Regions from separate parts of the Homo sapiens genome. Here region 1 is linked to region 2. The links are contacts of gene promoters, found by promoter capture Hi-C in human tissues and cell types (Jung and others, 2019). All regions are on one chromosome and are shown on one strand. The core of a region is centred on a gene start or on the middle of the fragment in contact, and the rest is flanking DNA. Distances in the headings are between cores, read along the strand shown.

Region 1 (5,447 bases), core at 1,366-3,865, 450 kb before region 2:
CTCCTCTCCCTGTGCCATCTGTCTGGGGCTCCTTCCTGTTCGCCTAGGAGTTCTGATTCCAGCGTGGGGAAGCTGAGCCTCCCCTGGGTCTCTGGGCTACTATCTGCTCCTTGGCGCCCTCGGTGTGGACGGCGGTCCCTGGGCTGCTCCTTGGCGCTCTTGGTGTGGACGGCGGTCCCTGGGCTGCTCCTGACGCTCTCAGTGTAGACAGTGGTCCCTGGGCTGCTCCTGACATCCTCGGTGTAGACAGCAGTCCCCGGGCTGCTCCTGACTCCCTGGGTGTAGACAGTGGTCCCTGGGCTGCTCATGACTCCCTCGGTGTAGACAGTGGTCCCTGGGCTGCTCCTGATTTCAGCTTCTCAGCCTTGTATCTGTTCCAGTAAAAAAGGCTAGGGGGGCACTGTCCATCTTCTCTAGTGAGGGCCATTGAAGAGGTCACCGTGCTCCTGGGAAGTGCATCACTCACCAGCCGCGTGACCGTGGGCAGGCTCATGGGTTCTTGTATGTGAGTGCAAAATATGACCCCATCGCAGGGGCTGTTTCGAGAAGATCAAAAGAGAGGACGCCCACAAAGCAATGCTGTGGATGAACAGTCATCATGAACTACAAACTGTGCAGACAGATTCTGAATACACAGAACTTGTCCTGCTCACATGTCCGGAACAAAGAGAGGACAAAGCCCAGAGCCCGTTACCCTTTCAGTCCTCACTTGCCTGCAGCCTGCAGCCTCAGCGAGCCGGGCTTTGCTCATTCCGTCCATATTACGTGGTGACTGTGGCCGGTGGCACTGGACAAAACCAGCACATCCTACTAAGAAGGACAACGATAAGGACAGAGACTCAACAGACCAGTCACATTTGATTTCAAGGTCCCCATCTTATTTCCACCAGAGAGCTTTAGCCACCGAAGAAACAGCTGGTGCCGCAGCCATCGTGGAGATGCGCGAGTCAGCCCAGAGCAGGGGCCGCTAGCACTGACGGAGGTGGAGGTTTCCTGGGGTCTGAGACTAACGCGGGAGCCGGCCCAGGGCAGGGGCCACCAGCACTGACGGCGGTTTCCTGGGGTCTGAGACTAGGATGTATTTCTCATCACTCACACTGACTTCTTTTCACAACATGCCCCCACCCGCCCACTGCCCTGGGCACTGTTGCAGCAGGCACTGCACTCTGTGCGGCCACCCCACTGGCAGCTCTGCACGGCAGCTGAGGATCTCGCTGCCATGGCCCTGTCATTCTGCTCAGGATGCCCCAGCCAAACCGAGACTTTACACTCAGAATACACTTAACAGCCCCCATGGCTCCCCAGGCCCAGCAAAGGGGCGTGAGCCTACAGTCTCTCCTCCTCCCAGCCCAGCAGCCAGCCAGCCCTCACACTCACCTTGCAGGCCCCAGCACCGTATCGCTGCCTGGCACCAGCTGGTCCCTGCCTGGGCCTGAACCCCCATGTCCACGCTTACCCTAGAGTCCCAGGAACCAAGCAGGCATGGAATGAGCCAAAGGGCACACGGAAAGCAATGGGACAGAGCAGAGCCCAGGAGCCGACCCCTCAGGAGTCGACGGACTTTCAACAAAGATCCAAAGGGCTGTTCGATGGAGAAGGGAGTCTTTTCAACGAACAGTGCTAAAAAGTTAGACATTCACACACTAAAAAAGAACTGTGGTCCGTATCTCGCACTATGTACAAACATTAACTCAAAATGGATCATGGTCCCAAACGTAAGAGCTGAAACTATTCTCTGTGACTTTGGGCTACGCAAGGATTTATTAGATATGACATCAGACAATTCACAAAACAAATTGATAAACCGGGCCAAAACCTAAAACTCCTGATTTTAAAGACGCTGTTAGGTGAATGGGAAGACAAACCACAAGCTGGGAGATGATATTTAAAATCGCACAGCTGACACTTGGGTCCCGAATTTTAAAAGCTCTCAAAACTCAAGAAAACAAAGGCCCCAGTTGAAAACGGAATGACACGAACAGGAAGAGGTGCTCAACGCCACCCATCATGAGAGAATCATGAACTCAACGAGACACCACCACCGCCCGCTGGAGCAGCAGGTGCTCGTGACCTCCCACCCATTGCAGGGGGAAGGGGATGGTGTAGCCGCTCTGGAGAACAGCTTGAAAGCTTCAGACAACACAGCAATCTCTCTCCTAGGTATCTGCCCAGGTGAAATAAAAAACCACGTTCGCACAGAAACCTGCACACAAATGTTGATAACATCTCACGTGTCATTGCTTAAAACAGGGTCACAAGCGGTGCCGCACCCACACCACGGATGCCACTCAGCAGGGAAAGGCGCGGGCTCTGACGCACACAGCACAGGCAGTTGACTGTGGGCGGAAGCCGGGCGGAAGCAGACAGGCTCAGAGGCCACGTCCTGCAGGATTTAGCCACGTGGCCTCCCAGAAAAAGCAAAACCACAAGAAGAGAAACAGGAACAAGGGGCCAGGCCTCGGGGGTGGAGGAGGTGCTGAGCACTAGGAAGGGAGTTTCTGAGGCGAGGAACCCTTCTCTATTTTGACTGTGATGATGTTTCTTAAGACACACAGAGCTGCACGCCAGAGGGGTGAATTTTTACTGGGTCTGCAGGTAAGCAGCTGCACAGACAGATGTGCGGGATGGTCTCACTTTAAGTCTGCACTGAGATCTCTCTTCTACTCTAGACAGACTGGAAGGGCTGCGCAGAAAGCAGCAGGGTGGCCCCCCAGCTGTGGGCTCTGTTCCCAGAAGTCCCAGCGGAGGACCCAGGGCTCAAATGGTTGGGTCAGATGAAAGTCAGAATGGGATGTGTTAGGGAAGGCTGGACAAGAGGGGCCCGGTATCAGGAGCCCACATCTAGAGAAGGAAGACAGGTGCTTGACTCATCCCACCCTGCCCACCACACCCACCTCTCCTGGCACTGCTGCTGGCGCTGTGTGGCACCCGGACTCCAGACAGACGGAGGCTGCCACCACTGCTGATGTGGTCTGGAGCCAACAGCATGGCCCCCCGCCTTCCTCTGAGACATGCACTGACGCCTGCATTCCAGGCATTGCTGTTCTTCCCATTGTCTCCCCAGTCATACAGCCAGGGGCCAGCACAGACACCTCCCCCATCCACCCGACTGAGACTTGGGAGAAGGCTGATCTACCCAGAGGGGACAGGTCGCAGTGCATCCTGAGTGCTCTCCTGGCCGAGTGGCCTGTCCCACGGGGGAGCATCCTCCATGCCGCCCTTCAGTCCGAATGTGGGTGGTTCGAGACTGGCCCACCTTGGGGGGCTCAGAGCACAGTGGAAGAGGAACGCAGCTGTGGGAAGTGCTCGTACCTGGCAGGCGCACGGCAGTGGTCAGGGGCCCGGACAGAGCCATGCCGATCTCGGTCATGCCATACCGCTCCAGCAGGGTGTGGCCCGTGATGTTCTTCCACTTCTCCAGCACTGGGAGGGGCAGGGCAGCTGAGCCTGAGACCATCAGCCTACGCGGCACAACCAAAGGCAGGTTTAGCCCCTTGGGACGTGGCTCTCGCGTGCAAAGGTGGCAGGTTTAGCCCCTCAGGAGGCGGCCCTTGCTTGCAAAAGTGGCAGCTCCTTCACGAGTGCAGGAGCCCCAGGCCGTGGGTACAGCACCACTGTGCGACACCCGGGACCAACGCTGCAGTCTGCGCTACGGCGTGACTTTGTTTTTTGAAAACGATCTGTTGGGTGTATTTTAGAAGGAAGCAGGTCCAACAGCTAATGAGGGTAAACAATGTGCTTAGGGTCCGCGGTGTCCCCTGCAAAGTTCCTGCGCTGTTCACAACCACGCTCAAGAACAGCAGTGACCGTGCAGCTGCCGACCACGGAGCTGATCACGGGTGAACAGCCACGGCGCTGCAGGCTGCGGCCAGGCACATCCGGGGACTACAGCCGGCTCAGCTTGCAGGCTCTGCAGCAGAACGCGGACATGGGTGAATGGCCGCGGCACCCAAGGGGTGGGGCCGGGCACACCCAAGGGGCTCAGAACCACCCGCAGAACTGCAGCCATCTTGGCCCACAGGGTCAGCTCAGGCTTGGCAGGAGAACACGGGCCCTGAGAACTCCGAGTCCCCGCGCTCTCACACAGCATTTCCCGCAGCCTCACGGGCAGTAGGGAAGGCGCTTTTGTTTGCGGTCTGAGCGGAGTGGTCCCTGCTGCTGCCCCTGCTTTACGAGGAGGCACCACTGACAGGACCCCCGCTGGGAGATCCAGATGGCCGAGGTCTCATTGCCTCTGTCACCCCAGAAATCACCTGATCCTCTCCTTCACTGACCTCGTTCTTGCCCTTGGTTCCTTAGATTTGGTAAAACGTTGTGCTCACCCTGCTCAGCTTGGGGCCTGCCCAGCCCCAGGGTATCCCAGCAGTAGCAGCAGCAAAACCATGGGCTCCGGTGGCCTCACAGAAAAGGGGCAAGGGAACGGCAAAGAGAGCGAAGCGGTTCAGACATGTGCCTTGGACAACCCGGAATTCTCTCCAGGAACAAAGGTGCCGCTTCCCTGTGCACTTCCTGGGGACTGGGAGGAGCGCGCGGCAGCCACAGACACACACATCCCACTGGAAACTGGATGGCAGTGGAGCCTTCAGTTCCTGCAGTGCACCCTCCACGCCACCCCTCCCTCTCACAAAAAGAAAAAATACCCCACCCACGACTCTGCTGGAGGTGCGGGCCTGTGATGCGTGTGAAGACTCACTGAGCCACACGTGTGCGTTTCCAGTTAGTGAACCACACCTCAACAGCCACGAGGGAAAAGAAACGTTCCCACGCCTGCAGGTTCATGGGAGAGTGCAGAGCAAACACGCCCCTGGGTGGCCCAAAAGACCAGCTTGTCCTGGGAGGGAGGGGTTTATCCAGGGAGCTGGGAGGGGAGGAGCGGGGCTGAGAGGAAAAGCAGCAGAACGTGCCCCAGGCAGGAGGCCTCACAGGGCTGCCCACGAAGGCAGAGAGACTGCATAGGAGAGGCAGGCGCCGTGGGACATGTGGGCAGATGAAGCAGGAGCAAGCGGGTCAGCTCACTGTCCTCACCCTTGTCCTTCAGACGCCATGACAGAGAGAGAGAGAGACGGACAGGAGAGAGAGCAGACAGACAGACGGAGACAAAGACAGATGGAGAGATAGAGACAGATGGAGAGACAGGAGAGATAGAGAAAGAGAAGACGGAGAGACAGATGAAGAGCGATGGAGAGAGACAGAGAGAAGACAGAGATGGAGAGTCTGACAAGAGAGACAGAGAAGACAGATAGATGGAGAGATGGAGAGAGAGAGACAAAGAGAGACAGAGAGAGATAGAGAGACAGAGTGTGACAGAGAGAGCGATACAGAATCCAGGCAGCTATCGACGTGGAAGAGATTACAGATATACATACAGACGGGTAGAGAGAGAGAGAGACAGTTAGAGAGGTAGAGACGGAGACGGGTAGAGAGAGAGGGAACATTGAAAGGAAATG
Region 2 (5,684 bases), core at 2,282-4,781:
GGAGGGATAGGATAAGAAGGTATGTGACTGGGAGATGGAAGAGAATTCCTTATTTCTATTGAGTCATAATCAATAGAGGTTATCTAAAACTTAAAAAAATAGGGCCAGGCACAGTGGCTCACGCCTGCAATCGCAGCACTTTGGGAGGCTGAGGCGGGCGGATCACAAGGTCAGGAGATCGAGACCATCCTGGCTAACACAGTGAAACCCCGTCTCTACTAAAAATAACAAAAAAAAGTAGCCGGTCGTGGTGGTGGGCGCCTGTAGTCCCAGCTACTTGGGAGGCTGAGGCAGGAGAATGGCGTGAACGTGGGAGGCGGAGGTTGCAGTGAGCCGAGATCACGCCACTGCACTCCAGCCTGGGTGACAGACCGAGACTCTGTCTCAAAAAAAAAAAAAAAAATAATAATAATAAAAACGCCAGGCATGGTGGCTCACGCCTGTAATCCCAGTGCTTTGGGAGGCCGAGGCAGGCGTATCACTTGAGGCAAGGAGTCTGAGACCAGCCTGGCCAAACATGGCGAAACCCCGTCTCTACTAAAAATACAAAAATTTGCCGGGCCTGCTGGTGCACGCTTGTAATCCCAGCTACTTGGGAGGCTGAGGCATGAGAATCACTTGAAACCAGGAGGCAGAAGTTGCAGTGAGCTATGATTGCCCCCCTGCACTCCAGCCTGGGTGACACAGCGAGACTCTGTCTAAAAAAAAAAAAAAGAGCAGCCTGGGCAACACAGTAAGACCTCCATCTCTACAAAATAAAAAATAAAAATTAGTCAGGAGTGGTGGCACTTATCACAGCTACTTGGGAGGCTGAAGTGGGAGGATCACCTGAGCCCAGGAGGTTGAGGCTGCTGTGAGCTGATGGTGCCATCGCACTCCAGCCTGGACAACAGAGTGAGACCCTGTCTCTAAACAAAAATAAATTGTTTTTTTTTCTACTGGACTTAAACAATCTGCCCTCCTTGGCCTCCCAAAGCACCAAGCCTGTGTCTTCTTTTTCATCACAGCCGTGGCAGAAGGAAGGAGGTGACTGGAAGCCCCACTCTCTCTGAGTAGCTGAGGGAATACACCCTGACTATAGGCCGAGACAGTCCACATCAGCTCTTCAATAGGATTTAGTGGCTTTGCATAAAATGGAAAAGCAGCTGTGATTGCAAGAGAAATTAAAAATAACCACCATCTGAAATGCAAATTGAAAACAGTGAGACAACACATGTCACTCTGGCAGGTGACCCACTGTGCTGGTGAAGGCATGCAGGCACTCTCAGACTTCCGCAGAGAGACCTGAGTAATCAATTGACTTCCACAAAGGGCGACTTGCCAACAGCTATCAAAAGTACTCAGGCACATCCCACTTGGCCCAGCAATTCCACTTCCAGGAATTTCTCCTGCAGAAATACATGTGCACAAACAACGTAGGAAAGCACTGTTTATAGTAACAACCCAACTAGGACAGACCAGGTATATTTAGACAACAAACAAGGAAGCTTTTTACTAAATTGGGATGATCTCTAAGAAGAAGGTACGTAGAAAAAGCAAGGTGGGAGAACACGCTATGTGCTTGTACTATGCACGTCAATGAAAAAATACACAAAGAATTGACAGGCCAGGTGGAGTGGCTCACACCTAATCCCAGTACTTTGGAAGACTGAGATGGGAGGGTTCCCTGAGGCCAGGACTTCAAATCAGCCTGGGCAACATAGCAAGACCCCCCCACATCTCTACAAAAAAATTAAGAAAAAAATTAGCCGGGCATGGTGGTGTGTACCTGTAGTCCCAACTACTGAGGAAACTGAGGTGGGAAGATCCCTTGAGCCAGGAGGTCGAGGCTGCATGGAGCTTTGATCGTACCACTGCCCTCCAGCCTGAGCAACAGAGTGAGAAAAAAAACAGACTTTTTTTCTATTTCTGGAAAAAAATAAAGAATTTATAAGTATGATGGTTCTGGTAATAGAAGTAGGTGGCTAGGCAGAGTGGACACTTCACACTGCATACTCCCCTATTTTCCGAAATCTGAGTTTTTTTTTTTTTTTTTTTTTTTTTTGAGATGGAGTCTTGCTCTGTCACCCTGGCTGGAGTACAGCAGCACCATCTCGGCTCACTGCAACTTCCGCCTCCTGAGTTCAAGCAATTGTCCTGCCTCAGCCTCCCCAGTAGCTGGGATTACAGGCGTGCACCACACGCCCACCTAATTATTGTATTTTTAGTAGAGACAGGGTTTCACCATGTTGGCCAGGCTGGTCTCAAACTCCTGACCTCGTGATCCGCCCACCTCGGCCTCCCAAAGTGCTGGGATTACAGGTGTGAGCCACCATGCCCAGCCAATCTGAGCTATTTAAAAACTAAAGGTAAAATTTTAAAAGGGGAAGGGGAAAATGGGAAGTCATTGTTTTAAGGGGACAGAGTTTCTGTTTGGGGTGAGAAAACTCTAGAAATAGTGGGGGCGTGGCACATGATTGGAATGAATGGCAGGGAACGGCACGCTTAAATGTTCCTGTACGTTTCACAGGAGAAGTCAATGCACACACAAGCGCCGCAACCCAGTCCAAGGCTTTGCTCCTACAGGGCCTTACAGGGGGTATTTGAGACGCCCACCTTAATGCAGGTTGGACCCAGCTCCGGGCTGCGGGGCTTCCCCGCCCCGGGGTCTTTCGTGTGAGCCCCGTGGCGGGGGATCCTGGCCCAGGACATGGCGCGGAGAAGGCTGTGGGCGGCGGGACAGGGTGCCTTCGGCTGCCGGGTTAAGAGTGGATCCCGGGATACATCCTCCAGCGCCTGCCCTCGGGCCTGTGTGCACCCCCATACCCAGCGGGGCCGTCCAAGAGCTTCAAGGAGGGCACAGCGCGACCCGCCCTCCCCTCAGCCCCGCACACCGTCCCACGGCCCCGCACAGCCTCCCTCCCACACAGCGCCCCACGGCACCCGCACAGCGCCCCACGGCCCCTTCATGGTCCCCGCACAGCGCCTCACAACCCGCACACAGCGCCTCACGGACCCTTTACGGCCCCCGCAGAGTCTCCCACACGGCGCCCCACACAGAGCCTCACGGACCCCGCACAGCGCCTCAAGGTCTCCGCACAGCCCCCAGCACAGCGCCTCACACAGCCCTTCGCACAGCCCCCCGCACAGCTCCTCACGGGCCCCACACAGCTGCCGCACAGCCCCGCACAAGCCCGCACAGCACCAGCAGACAGGTAGCCCCCACAGGCAACAGCGCCCACCTCGCCGCGCCCAGACCCCGGATCGCCGACGCGGACGCCAGGCGCCTGGGCACACGGCGCCTGCGCAGACAACACCACGCCCCAGGCCTGGCGAGCGCACCCTGCGGGTGGGGCGGACCTACGTCAGCAACCCATCGTCCGATCCCGTCCATTGGCTGAGAGGTAATGCGTGCGCCCGACTCGCCGCTGATTGGTCGGCGCGCGAGCAGCCGGGCTCGCACGGGCCAATCCTGTGGTAGCGCGTGAGGAGGCAGAGGCCTCTGGGGTGGGATCGCGGGCCGTAAGTGGCTGTGGAGCTGGGGTCACTGCGCGGTGGGACCATGGCCTCGGAGAAGCCGCTGGCGGCAGTCACTTGTACAGCGCCGGTCAACATCGCGGTCATCAAGTACTGTGAGTGCCGCGGGCCGGCCTGGGACGGGGATGGCCGGGAGCGAGGCCGGGTACGCGGGGGTCGCGCGCTGATTCGGCGGCGCGCTCCGTCCTGCCCTCCCAGGGCCTCGACAGACGGGGAAACTGAGGCTCAGGGAGGGGCGCGGCGGTGGTCGGGCGGGGCCGCGCGCTCCTTCGCGTGACAAGCTCGGCGCCACCCGTTCCCCCGCGACGGCTGCCGCCCCTGCAGGGTCGCCCGGCGCCTGCCCATTAGCGATTACCGAACTATCGAAATCATCAATCATCGATTCCCATGAATCGTAAGAATCCGCCGTGGTGGTGCGCGTTTGTGGCTCCAGCTACTCGGGAGGCTGAGGCGGGAGGATGGCCAGAGCCCGGGAGGTCGAGGCTGCAGTGAGCGGAAATCGCGCCACTGCTCCCCCAGCCCGAGACCCTGTGTCCCTCCCTCGCCCCGTTTCTCCCAGCGGTAACCTCCAAGGAGCGGTAATGGGGGGCCCGCAGGCCCACATCCGTGCCGGGGAGGCCGGTCCGCACCTGTGCGTTCACAGCCCCGCCCCTCCCCTCGCGCCGGGGTTACCTGGCCGCCACTGACCACTCATTTCTGTAACGTCATTTCAAAATGTTCTGAAACTGGAATCGCAGTTATGTGGCCCACCCAGTATCTTTTGAGTTTGGCTTATTTCATTCAGCATAGAATGTGGACGTGCCCCGGGATTGTATCAGTGCTTTGCCCCTCTGTTGCTGAGCCAGTCCGTGGAATCCATGGACCACCCTCTCTCTAGCCAAGGCCTCACCCCGCAAAGAGCATCTAACGTTTTCTTTCTTTCTTTCTTTTCTTTCCAGAAGCCGCCACCACGACTGGCTAATTTTTTTGTGTTTCCCTTACCAATAAAGCTGCCATAAAATGTTGTATACAGGTTTTTGTGTGAACATACATTTCCATTCTTCTGGGATAAATGCCCAGGAGTGCGGTTGCTGGGTCAGATGGTAGATATATATATATGCCTCTCTGTCTCTCTCTCTCTTTCTATGTATATATGTATGTTTGTGTGTGTGTATATATATATACACCTGTATAGATATATGTGTGTGTATATGTATACACCTATATAGATGTATGTGTGTGTATATATACATATATATATTATATATATACTTTTTTTTTTTAAAGAAACTGTCTAATTGTTTTTCAGAGTGGCTGGGCCATTTTGCATCCCTACGGTGATGCAGATTTTCCGCATCCTCACCAGCATTTGGTGGAGTTGCTGTTTTTCATTTTAGCCGCGTCCTGGTAGGGATGTGCTGGCAGGGTGCTGTGGTCCTCATTCGCGTTTCCCTGTTGGCCAGTGACGTGGAGCATCTTTCTTTGTGCTTATTTGCCATCTGTGGGTTTTCTTGGTGAAATCTCTCTTCATATTCTGTGTCCACGCTCGAACTGGATGGTTTGCTTTTTTACTATAAGTTTGGAGAGTTCATTACACATTCTAGGCTGGGCACGCTGGCTCAAGCCTGTAATCCCAGCACTTGGGGAGGCTGAGGTGGGCGGATCACCTGAGGTCAGGAGTTTGAGACCAGCTTGGCCAACATGGTGAAACCCCCGTCTCTACTGAAAAAAAATAAAATATGTATTCTAGATATTAGTCTCCTGTTGGACATGTGGTTTGCAGGTATTGTCTCCCAAACTAGCTAATCTTTTTGTCCTCTTAACAAAGAGCCAGTTTTTCATTTTAAAGAAGTTCAGTGTATCAATGTTGATGTCAAGTCTAAGACCTCTTTGCTTAGCCCTATGTCCTGAAGATTGTCTGCTTTCCTCCAAGTTGTACAGGATTGCCTTTTATATTTAAGTCTGTGATCCAAGGTTGTCCAGTTAGCCCAGAAAGGCTATCCTTCCTCTATTGAATTGCTTTTGCACTTTTGTAAAAAAAAAAATCAGCTGGGCATGTTTGTGTGGGTCTATTTCTGGATTTTCTCTTCTGCTATTTTTTTTTTTTTTTTTTTTTTTTTTGAGACAGAGTCTTGCTCTGTCACCCAGGCTGGAGTGCAGTGGCACAATCTTGGCTCACTGTAACCTCC

Evidence for each region. Contacts are between HindIII fragments. The study calls those that stand out against the background at their distance.
Region 1: a fragment that was not itself captured here is called in contact with the fragment with the promoter of MVD in region 2 in 1 of the 25 tissues and cell types used here (mesenchymal stem cells).

What each region holds. Positions count from the first base shown.
Region 1 is chr16:89,112,353-89,117,799 of GRCh38, reverse strand. ACSF3 (acyl-CoA synthetase family member 3) reads right to left here. Exons shown (of 11, transcript NM_001243279.3): 6 at 3,313-3,461. Among named protein-coding and RNA genes, the nearest start is that of ACSF3, 21 kb to the right of the region's middle. RefSeq lists a silencer at 2,945-3,239 and enhancers at 3,335-3,434, 2,634-3,833. The HindIII fragment of the contact is 3,135 bases long and covers 1,048-4,182 here.
Region 2 is chr16:88,660,938-88,666,621 of GRCh38, reverse strand. MVD (mevalonate diphosphate decarboxylase) reads left to right here and starts at 3,531. Exons shown (of 10, transcript NM_002461.3): 1 at 3,531-3,611. The coding sequence starts at 3,542. It overlaps SNAI3-AS1 (SNAI3 antisense RNA 1), which reads right to left and starts at 3,249. Exons shown (of 4, transcript NR_024399.1): 1 at 3,222-3,249. RefSeq lists silencers at 2,867-3,026, 3,367-3,786 and an enhancer at 3,237-3,286. The HindIII fragment of the contact is 7,255 bases long and covers 339-5,684 here.